3 separate regions of the Homo sapiens genome follow, and all the other regions are linked to region 1. Evidence: promoter capture Hi-C in 16 types of primary human blood cells and fetal thymus (Javierre and others, 2016). All regions are on one chromosome and are shown on one strand. The core of a region is centred on a gene start or on the middle of the fragment in contact, and the rest is flanking DNA. Distances in the headings are between cores, read along the strand shown. Region 1 holds the start of SMCO1 (single-pass membrane protein with coiled-coil domains 1). Region 2 overlaps DYNLT2B (dynein light chain Tctex-type 2B). Region 3 overlaps TM4SF19 (transmembrane 4 L six family member 19).

The links. The method cuts DNA at HindIII sites, captures the fragments that hold promoters and counts their contacts. A CHiCAGO score of 5 or more calls a contact.
Region 2: a contact is called between a fragment that was not itself captured here and the fragment with the promoter of SMCO1 in region 1, in 6 of 17 cell types (M2 macrophages, M1 macrophages, M0 macrophages and 3 more). The highest score is 8.2, in M2 macrophages.
Region 3: a contact is called between a fragment that was not itself captured here and the fragment with the promoter of SMCO1 in region 1, in 3 of 17 cell types (M2 macrophages, M0 macrophages and M1 macrophages). The highest score is 7.7, in M2 macrophages.

Annotation. Positions count from the first base shown.
Region 1 is chr3:196,514,096-196,516,824 of GRCh38, forward strand. SMCO1 (single-pass membrane protein with coiled-coil domains 1) reads right to left here and starts at 1,251. Exons shown (of 3, transcript NM_001077657.3): 1 at 1,065-1,251. The coding sequence starts at 1,114. The HindIII fragment of the contact is 1,040 bases long and covers 233-1,272 here.
Region 2 is chr3:196,292,703-196,295,856 of GRCh38, forward strand. The region is part of intron 4 of DYNLT2B (dynein light chain Tctex-type 2B); the gene reads right to left. Among named protein-coding and RNA genes, the nearest start is that of PCYT1A, 6.6 kb to the left of the region's middle. RefSeq lists an enhancer at 45-134. The HindIII fragment of the contact is 7,362 bases long and covers 1-3,154 here.
Region 3 is chr3:196,330,606-196,333,888 of GRCh38, forward strand. The region is part of intron 1 of TM4SF19 (transmembrane 4 L six family member 19); the gene reads right to left. All of the region lies in intron 1 of TM4SF19-DYNLT2B (TM4SF19-DYNLT2B readthrough (NMD candidate)), which reads right to left. Among named protein-coding and RNA genes, the nearest start is that of TM4SF19, 6.1 kb to the right of the region's middle. The HindIII fragment of the contact is 2,800 bases long and covers 126-2,925 here.

The sequences.
Region 1 (2,729 bases), core at 1-2,500:
TCCAGACACATTCTTCTAAAACACAATTCCGATTCTGTGACTCAACTGATTACAAATGGTTTATGTCATCCTGGCTTGCCCAGTGATATACTCAGAGGCAAACTGGATCTCCTCAGCAGGAAAGTCAAGGGCCTTCACCCTTTGCTCCTGTCTTCCACCAGTCCCCTCACCCATCCTAGTTACCAATTACACGAGACATCTAGTTGCTGCTTGAATACATTATGTGGTTCCAAGCTTACATATGGCTTATATGCACTGTTTCCTCAGCCTAGAATGCCTTCCCATATTTTTCTCCCTCATAAGCTCCTACTTGCACTTTAAGATCCAGCTTAAATGACCCTATATGAAGAGTTCCTTTTTCTAGTGTCAAAGGCAAAATTGGTTGATCCTCCCTTCATGTTCGCATAGACCTTTAGGAACATCACCATTGTAAGGTCAGTCACATTAAATTGTAAATGTTTTTCAAACTTTTCTCTTTCCTACAGGCTGTGAGCTCCTTGAGGGCAGAAACCACATTTTACTTATTTTTGTAAATCTAGGATTTAGCATATGCATACATTCAATGGAGTTACAGCACCTGGGAGCAGACTTTTCTTTATTGTTAATTTACATAGGTTTGGGCCTGGAAGACTTAAACCACTGTAATAGAGACGGAATTCTTTTTTTGGACGGAGTCTTGCTCTGTTGCCAGGCTGGAGTGCAGTGGCACGATCTCGGCTCACTGCAACCTCCACCTCCCGGGTTCAAGTGATTCTCCTGCCTCAGCCTCCCAAGTAGCTGGGACTACAGGCGCCCGCCACCATGCCTGGGTAATTTTTGTATTTTTAGTAGAGGCAGGGTTTCACCATGTTCGCCAGGCTGGTCTCAATCTCTTGACCCTGTGATCCGCCCACCTCGGCCTCCCAGTGTGCTGGGATTACAGGTGTGAGCCACCGCACCGGCCACAGAGACAGAATTCTAATGAGCATGTCTGCAGTTCTTTATTTCTATTCTTCATTCTTCTCTTACCCATCTTCCCAGAATAGCAGACCCATGCTTGCTCCCTCCCTATAGCCCTCAGCAACCTTTTCATTGCCTCCTTCAAGGATATCAGGGTTGTGGTTTCATTGTTCATCTTCTGAAGGCAAAAGGAAAGAAAACAAAAACAAAGCAAAACAAAAAAAGCAATAAATGTTTGAATCCAGAATTTTCTGCGGTCTTCCTCTCAGCAACAGGCAGCAGTAGCAGGAGCGCTCAGTCTACATTCTGCCTGAAAGGTCACTCAGTACAAGAAGCTTTTAATAGCCTGCAGATCCAAATATAGTTTCAAAGAACTTATCTCGTGGACACAGGTGTCCTGGAATGCACTATAACATTTGCCTTTGAAAACTGAACCATAGTACATTAACATACAGCAACAACCATGTATAATTAATGACTGTGTACATTATGGTAAATGTATATACAGATACATTAACGTAACGTATAGGATTAAGTTTGATGGAAATATTACTGTCATATTTTAACTGCTTCATTATTCAATTACAACCTAAATTAGGTTTGAAGAGTGCCCCAGATCTTTTATGATGATGATATCAAAGCAAAAAATCTAACTATCATTAGAAACTACTAAATACTTGTTATGGCTGGGTATGGTGGCTCACTCCTGTAATCCCAGCACTTGGGGAAGCCAAGGTGGGAGGATTGCTTGAGCCCAGGAATTCAAGACCAGCCTGGGCCACAGAGCGAGACTGTCTCCACAAAAAATACAAAAATTAGCCAGGAGTGGTGGTGCATGCCTGTAGTCCCAGCTACTCAAGAGGCTGAAGTGGGAGGACTGCTTGAGCCCAGGAGTTCGAAGCTGCAGTGAGCTATGATCATGCCACTGCACTCCAGCCCGGGCAAGAGGATAGGATATATATATATATATATATATATATATATATATATATATATAATTATATATAAAATTATACATATAATTATATATAATATATAATTTATATCGTATATAAAATATATATATAATTTTATATAATTATATATATATTAGATTAGGAATTGAATATAAATGTGGAAATAAAATAGGACTGCTGTTTTCATGAGATTTAAAATCTAGTTGGGAAGAAAGAATATATCCTTAAATAGAAAATGTATATGGGATGTGTGCTAAGTAGATAGAGACCATAAAAATAATAGAAGGTGAGAGACTAAGTCACTGAAATCTTGGGTCCTTGGGGAGATATTCACCCTGAAGGTGGTACTTGGCTTGGCCTTAAAGGTCAAGGTCTTTGATTATCAGAGAAGAGTGTTAAGGGTGTTACGAACTGGAGAAATTGTGTGAGCAAAATCACAGAGGTGGCAAAGTAAATGATGTGTTCAGGAAACAATGAGTAGGTATGTTTTGAGCAAAAGATTCATATAAGAAAAAGAAAATAACCACACCATTTAAACTGGTAAGAGCCATGTCACGTATTTGTTCTTTCACTGAATACTTTATTCACTTATTCAATATTTACTGAGCATCATAGATATTAATTGAATGTATAAAACCTACGAATGGATGAGCAGCACTATTCCAGGCACTGGTAATATAGTGATAAGTAAGGCGAAATCCTTGTCCTCAAGGAACATACTAGCAGGGAGACAGCACATAAGGCTTATAAGAGAGGGGATGCTTCTAGCTAGCTTGGTAAGGAGTTTGGACAGATGTGAGCTGTTGGTTCTAGAAGATTAATCTAGGCTCAGGT
Region 2 (3,154 bases), core at 145-2,644, 220 kb before region 1:
CCCACTGTGAGTGGCCCTGTTCTACAGCACCACCCAGAGTTCTCCAACAGGACTGAGCCCTGTCATCCAGCAGTTTTCCGCTCAATACCACATGATTTTCCCTCCTTTCTCATTTCCTCTGCCTCTACTAATGTTTCCTGGAATCTCCCAAATAAAGTGCTTTTTTTTTGAGACAGAGTCTTGCCCTCTCGCCCAGGCTGGAGTGCAGTGGCACAATCTTGGCTCACTGCAACCTCCGCCCTCTGGGTTCAAGCAATTCTCCTGCCTCAGCCTCCCAAGTAGCTGGGACTACAGGCGCCCGCCACCTTGCCCGGCTAGTTTTTGTATTTTTAGTAGAGATGGGGTTTCACCATGTTGGCCAGGCTGGTCTTGAACTCCTGACCTCAGGTGATCCACCCGCCTCGGCCTCCCAGAGTGCTGGGATTACAGGCGTGAGCCACCACACCCAGCCTAAAGTTTTTTATTACATATTTGTTCATTTGAGTATTGAGTGGCCCCCACTGGATGTTAATAGGCAGAAACCATGCCTGTCTTATTCATCATTTTGTCCCTAGCCCCTCAGGTGCAGAAGCTGACACATAATAGGAGCTCAGAACTATTTGTTGAATGAATGAATTGTATCATCTAAAGATGCATTTTTTGGCCAGGCCCAGTGGCTCATGCCTGTAATCCCAGCACTTTGGGAGGCCAAAGCAGGCAGATCACCTGAGGTCAGGAGTTGGAGACCAGCCTGACCAAATAGTGAAACCTTGTCTCTACTAAAAAATACAAAAATTAGCCGAGCGTGGTGGCATGCACCTGTAGTCCCAGCTACTCGGGAGGCTGGGGCAGGAGAATTACTTGAACCTGGGAGGCAGAGGTTGCAGTGAGCCGTGATGGCACCACCACTCTCCAGCCTAGGTGACAGAGTGAGACTCCGTCTCAAAACAAACAAACAAGATGCATTTTTTTTTTTTTTTTTGAGACAGAGTCTCGCTCTGTCTCCAGGCTGGAGTACAGTGGCACAATCTCGCCTCACTGCAACCTCTGCCTCCCAGGTTCAAGCAATTCTCCTGCCTCAGCCTCCCGAGTAGCTGGGATTACAGGCACCCAACACCACACCTGGCTAATTTTTGTATTTTTAGTAGAGACGGGGTTTCAGCATGTTGGCCAGGATGGTCTCAATCTCTTGACCTCATGATCCGCCCGCCTCGGCCTCCCAGAGTGCTGGGATTACAGGCATGAGCCACCGTGCCTGGCAAAAAAAACCATCTTCTTAGCTTGACTATTCCCCCAAAGATAGCTGATAAATTAAGATTTACATAGTACTTCCCACTGTCCAGCCCCTGATCCCTAGGGTAGTTAAGCATAAAATAAAACTTTGGTGGGGCTGGGCGCAGTGGCTCACGCCTATAATCCCAGAACTCTGGGAGGCCGAGGCGGGCCGATCACCTGAGGTCGGGAGCTCCAGACCAACCTAACCGACATGGAGAAACCCTGTCTCTACTAAAATTACAAAATTAGCCAGGTGTGGTGGTGCATGCCTGTAATCCCAGCTACTCGGAAGGCTGAGGCAGGACACTTCAACCCGGGAGGTGGAGGTTGTGGTGAGCTGAGATTGTGCCATTGCACTCCATCCTGGGCAACAAGAGCAAAATTCTGTCTCAAAAAATAATAAAAATAAAAATAAAACCTTGGTGAGACCATAGAATTTTAGAGCTAAAAGCTACCTTAAAATCATCTACATAAGCAGTGTCCATATCTGGCAGTCAGCAGAATCATGGGGAACTTTTTAAATATTCTGATTCACTGATCTAACCCCTGGCCTATTTGATCAGAATCTATTTGAATAGGGACCCAGCGTCTATATTTTAAACAACTTCCCAGATGATCCTTAGGCAGTCACAGCCAGTCTTTGGGAAAATGTACTTCAGCTTCCTAATGTCACTGATACAATGTGAGAAAAATCCAATGACTTACCTGAAGTCATTCAATTAGAAAGTGACAGAACTGGAGATGGAATCCCCCTCTTATTTCTTTTTACTTTTTTCTTTTTTCTTTTTTTAATTTTTGAGACAGAGTCTTGCTCTGCTGCCCAGGCTGGAATGCAGTGGTGCGATCTCAGCTCACTGGAACCTCCGCCACCAGGTTCAAGCAATTCTCCTGCCTCAGCCTCCCAAGTAGCTGGGATTACAGGCGTGCACCACCACACCCGGCTAATTTTTTGTGTGTGTGTTTTTAGCAGAGAAGAGGTTTCACAATGTTGGCCAGGCTGCTCTCAAACTCTTGACCTCAAGTGATCCACATGCCTCGGCCTCCCAAAGTGCTGAGATTACAAGCGTGAGCCACCCCACCTGGCCTCACTCTCTTAATTTACTCAATCTAGTTTCTGTTCTACTCTAACTCTGACTCTATGTATTCACAACCTGGGAGTAGACGAATAGAGGATGCAATCCTTTCTGGAGTAAATATAAAATAATAACTTCAATGAAACCTCTTTTATGTGTGTGTGTGTGTCACCCAGGCTGGAATACAGTGGCACAATCTCAGCTCACTGCAACCTCTGCCTCCGGGGTTCAAGCGATTCTCCTGCCTCAGCCTCCTGAGTAGCTGGGATTACAGGTGCCCGCCACCATGCTCGGCTAATTTTTATATTTTTAGTAGAGACAGGCTTTCACCATGTTGGCCAGGCTGGTCTTGAACTCCTGACCTCAGGTGATCCGCCCTCCTTGGCCTCCCAAAGTGCTGGGATTATAGGCATGAGCCACCGCGCCTGGCCTGAAACATCTTTTTAAAGATTCCTCTTTATTTTTGCTTAATTTTAATAAATGGCTTTAAGATAAAGTAATAAATTTTACTACTAAAAAAAAATGACCTTTGCTCATGGAATCCCTGCCATCCACATTTGTTTGCAACTTAGCAAAGTGTGATTGGTTCAAATGAACAAATAAGTGATTTTAAAATTTTAGTTATAAATTATTACTTTAATAAGGATTATCAGGATTGAGTTTTAGAACACTGATTTATGGAGGAAGTGGCTAAAAATAATGTTTAAATAATATGCTAACTAAATAATATGCTATTCAGAAATTCAAACCCATGAAAAATTATGTCATATGTAAACATGTAAGTTTCCTTGCCTATAAGCAGCACTCTAGGTTTCTGCTTTAGTAAC
Region 3 (3,283 bases), core at 276-2,775, 180 kb before region 1:
ACAAAAGACTACTCACATGTTTCTATATATACGAAATTCTAGAAAAGGCAAAACTTTTAACGGAGAGCAGATGAGCGGTTGCCATGGGCTGAGAATGGGAAAGAGGATTAGTATGGGGCATGGGAAGCTTTCTGAAGGGGTGGAAGCATTCTGTGTCTAGATTCTGGTGGTGAATACATAACTGTACATATTGACAAAACTCATTAAACTTTGCACTTAAAATAGGTGAATTTTATTGAATTTTAACTATATATCAATAAAGCTAATTACAATTAAAATGTCATATCTAGATAAATTATAAAATGCCTCTTCCACTCCTTATGTTCCTCTCTTTTATATTTTCATTGATATGTGAACTTCTTGTTTTTTAGAAAAATATGAATTAAGGCCGGGCACGGTGACTTACACCTGTAATCCCAGCACTTTGGGAGGCCAAGGCAGGTGGATCGCCTGATGTCAGGAGTTTGAGATAAGCCTGGTCAACATGGTGAAACCGTGTCTCTATTAAAAAATACAAAAAAATTGCTGGACGTGGTGGCAGGCACCTGTAATCCCAGCTACTCGGGTGGCTGAGGCAGCAGAATCGCTTGAGCCCAGGAGGCAGAAGTTGCAGTGAGCAGAGATCGTGCCATTGCACTCCAGCCCAGGAAACAAGAGTGAAGCTCTATCTAAAAAAAAAATATATATATATACATATATATATGAATTAAAATAGGACTAGTAATATTTGGGCAGACTCATGTCAATGTGGATCTGAAAAAAGTCAGCGTCATGACATCCCCAGGAAGTGGCCTGTTCCCACTGTGCAGTTCAGTTACACGTCTGTCTCCCCTTAAGGCTCGCTATTTATTTATTTATTTAATTTATTTATTTATTTTTTATTGAAAAAAATTTATTTTTAGCCGGGTGCAGTGGCTCACGCCTGTAATCCCAGCACTTTGGGAGGCCAAAGCCGGCAGATCACCTGAGGTCAGGAGTTCAAGACCAGCCTGGCCATCATGACGAAACCCCATCTCTACTAAAAATACAAAACTAGCCGGGCGTGGTGGCGCATGCCTGTAATCCCAGCTACTCGGAAGGCTGAGGCAGGAGAATCACTTGAACCCGGGAGGTGGAGGTTGCAGTGAGCCGAGATTACGCCACTGCACTCCAGCCTGGACAACAAGAGTGAAACTCCGTCTCAGAAGAAAAAAAAATGTAATAGAGGTGAGGTCTCCTTATGTGGCCCAGGCTGGTCTCAAACTCCTTGGCTCAAGGGCCCTCCCACTTCAGACACCTAAAGTGCTAGGATGACAGGCGTGAGCCACTGCACTTGGCCACTTGAGGCTCTTGACACGCCTATAACACACTGCTTTGCACCTAATCAGAAAATATGTGTATAGAGGCCAGGCACGGTGGCTCACGCCTGTAACCCCAGCACTTTGGGAGGCTGAGGTGGGTGGATCACGAGGTCAGGAGTTTCCGACCAACCTGGCCAACATGGTGAAACCCCGTCTCTACTAAAAATACAAAAAAATTAGCTGGGCATGGTGGCGGGTGCCTGTGGTCCCAGCTACTCGGGAGGCTGAGGCAGTAGAATGGCGTGAACCTGGGGGGCTGAGATCACGCCAGTGCACTCCAGCCTGGGCAAGAGAGTGAGATTCGGTCTCAAAAAAAAAAAATTAACTGCGTGGTGGTGTGCGCCTGTAATCCAAGCTACTCAGGAGCTTGAGGCAGGAGAATCGCTTGAGCCCGAGAGGCAGAGGTGGCAGTGAGCCCAGATCACGCCACTGCACTCCAGCCTGGGTGACAGAGCAAAAGAGAGAGAGAGAGAGGAGGGAGAGAGGGAGGGAGGGAGGGAGGAAGGAAGAAAGGAAAGGAAGGAAGGAAAGAGGAAGGGGAAGGGGAAGGGAAGAAAAAAAATATATATATATATAAAAGATATGGATCAGAGGCTCTATATATATGCACACACACATATATATCATATACATATAATGTATAATGTGCGTATATATGTGTGTACGTACACACACACACACACACAATAGTCCCCCATATCTGCAGGGGATATGTTCCAAGAGCTCCAGCGGATACCTGAAACCACAGATCATACCAAACTCTGTATATTCAGATGCTTCTCCACTTATGATGGGGTCGAACTCCTATAAACCCGTTGTAAGTCAAAATATCCTAAGTTCAAAAGGCATTTAATGCTGGCAACACAGTAGACTGTCCCTGACTCACAATGGTTCAACTTACAATTTTTTTTTTTTTTTTTTTTTTGAGACAGGGTCTTGCTCTGTCACCCAGGCTGGAGTGCAGTAGCACAATCATTGTTCACTGCAGCCCTGATCTGGGCTCAAGTGATCCTCCCACCTCAGTCTCTCGGATAGCTGAGACCGCAGGCATGCGCCACCATACCTGGCTAATGTTTTAGTTCTATAGAGACAGGGTCTCACTATGTTGCCCAAGCTGATCTCAAACTCCTGGCCTCAAGTGATCCTCTCACCTCCACCTCCCAAAATGTTGGGATTACAGGCGTAAGCCACCACGCCCAGTCCCAATTTACTTTTGACTTTGTGATGGTGCAAAAGCAATGAGTATTCAGTAGAAACCGTAATCCCATCATAAAGGGTAAGGAGTTCACTGATGATGGAGTTAGGTCCCTAGAAACCTGTCGTAAAGTTGGAAACTTAGAAGTCAAACCACTATAAGTAGAGGACTGTCTGTACTATGCTTTTTCCTATACATACATATCTGTAATAAAGTTTAATTTATAAATCAGGCATAGTAAGAAGTTCGCAACAATAATAATAAAATAGAACAGTTATAACAACATACTGTAATGAAAGTTATGTGAATGTGGTCTTTCTCATTGAAAATATTTTATGTAAGTTTTTTGAACTGCAGTTGACCACAGATAGCTAAAACTTTGGAAAGCAAAGCTTCAGTTAAGGGGGGATTACTTTACATCACACATAAATAATGAAATATTTCACAGCATGAAGAATTAAACATTGGGGGAGGGCCAGGGCTGAAAAACTATCTGTAGGTACCGCGCTCACTACCTGAGTGACGGGAATCACTCATACCCTAACCTCAACATCACACAATAGACACGGAACAAGCCTGTATATGTATCCCCGGATCTAAAATAAAAGTTGAAATTATATTTTTAAAATTTGCATTAAAGGCCAGGTGCAGTAGTTCACGCCTATAATCCCAGCACTGTGGGAGGCCGAGGCGGGTGGATCACTTGAGGTCAGGAGTTCAAGACAGCCTGGCCAACCTGGCGAAACCT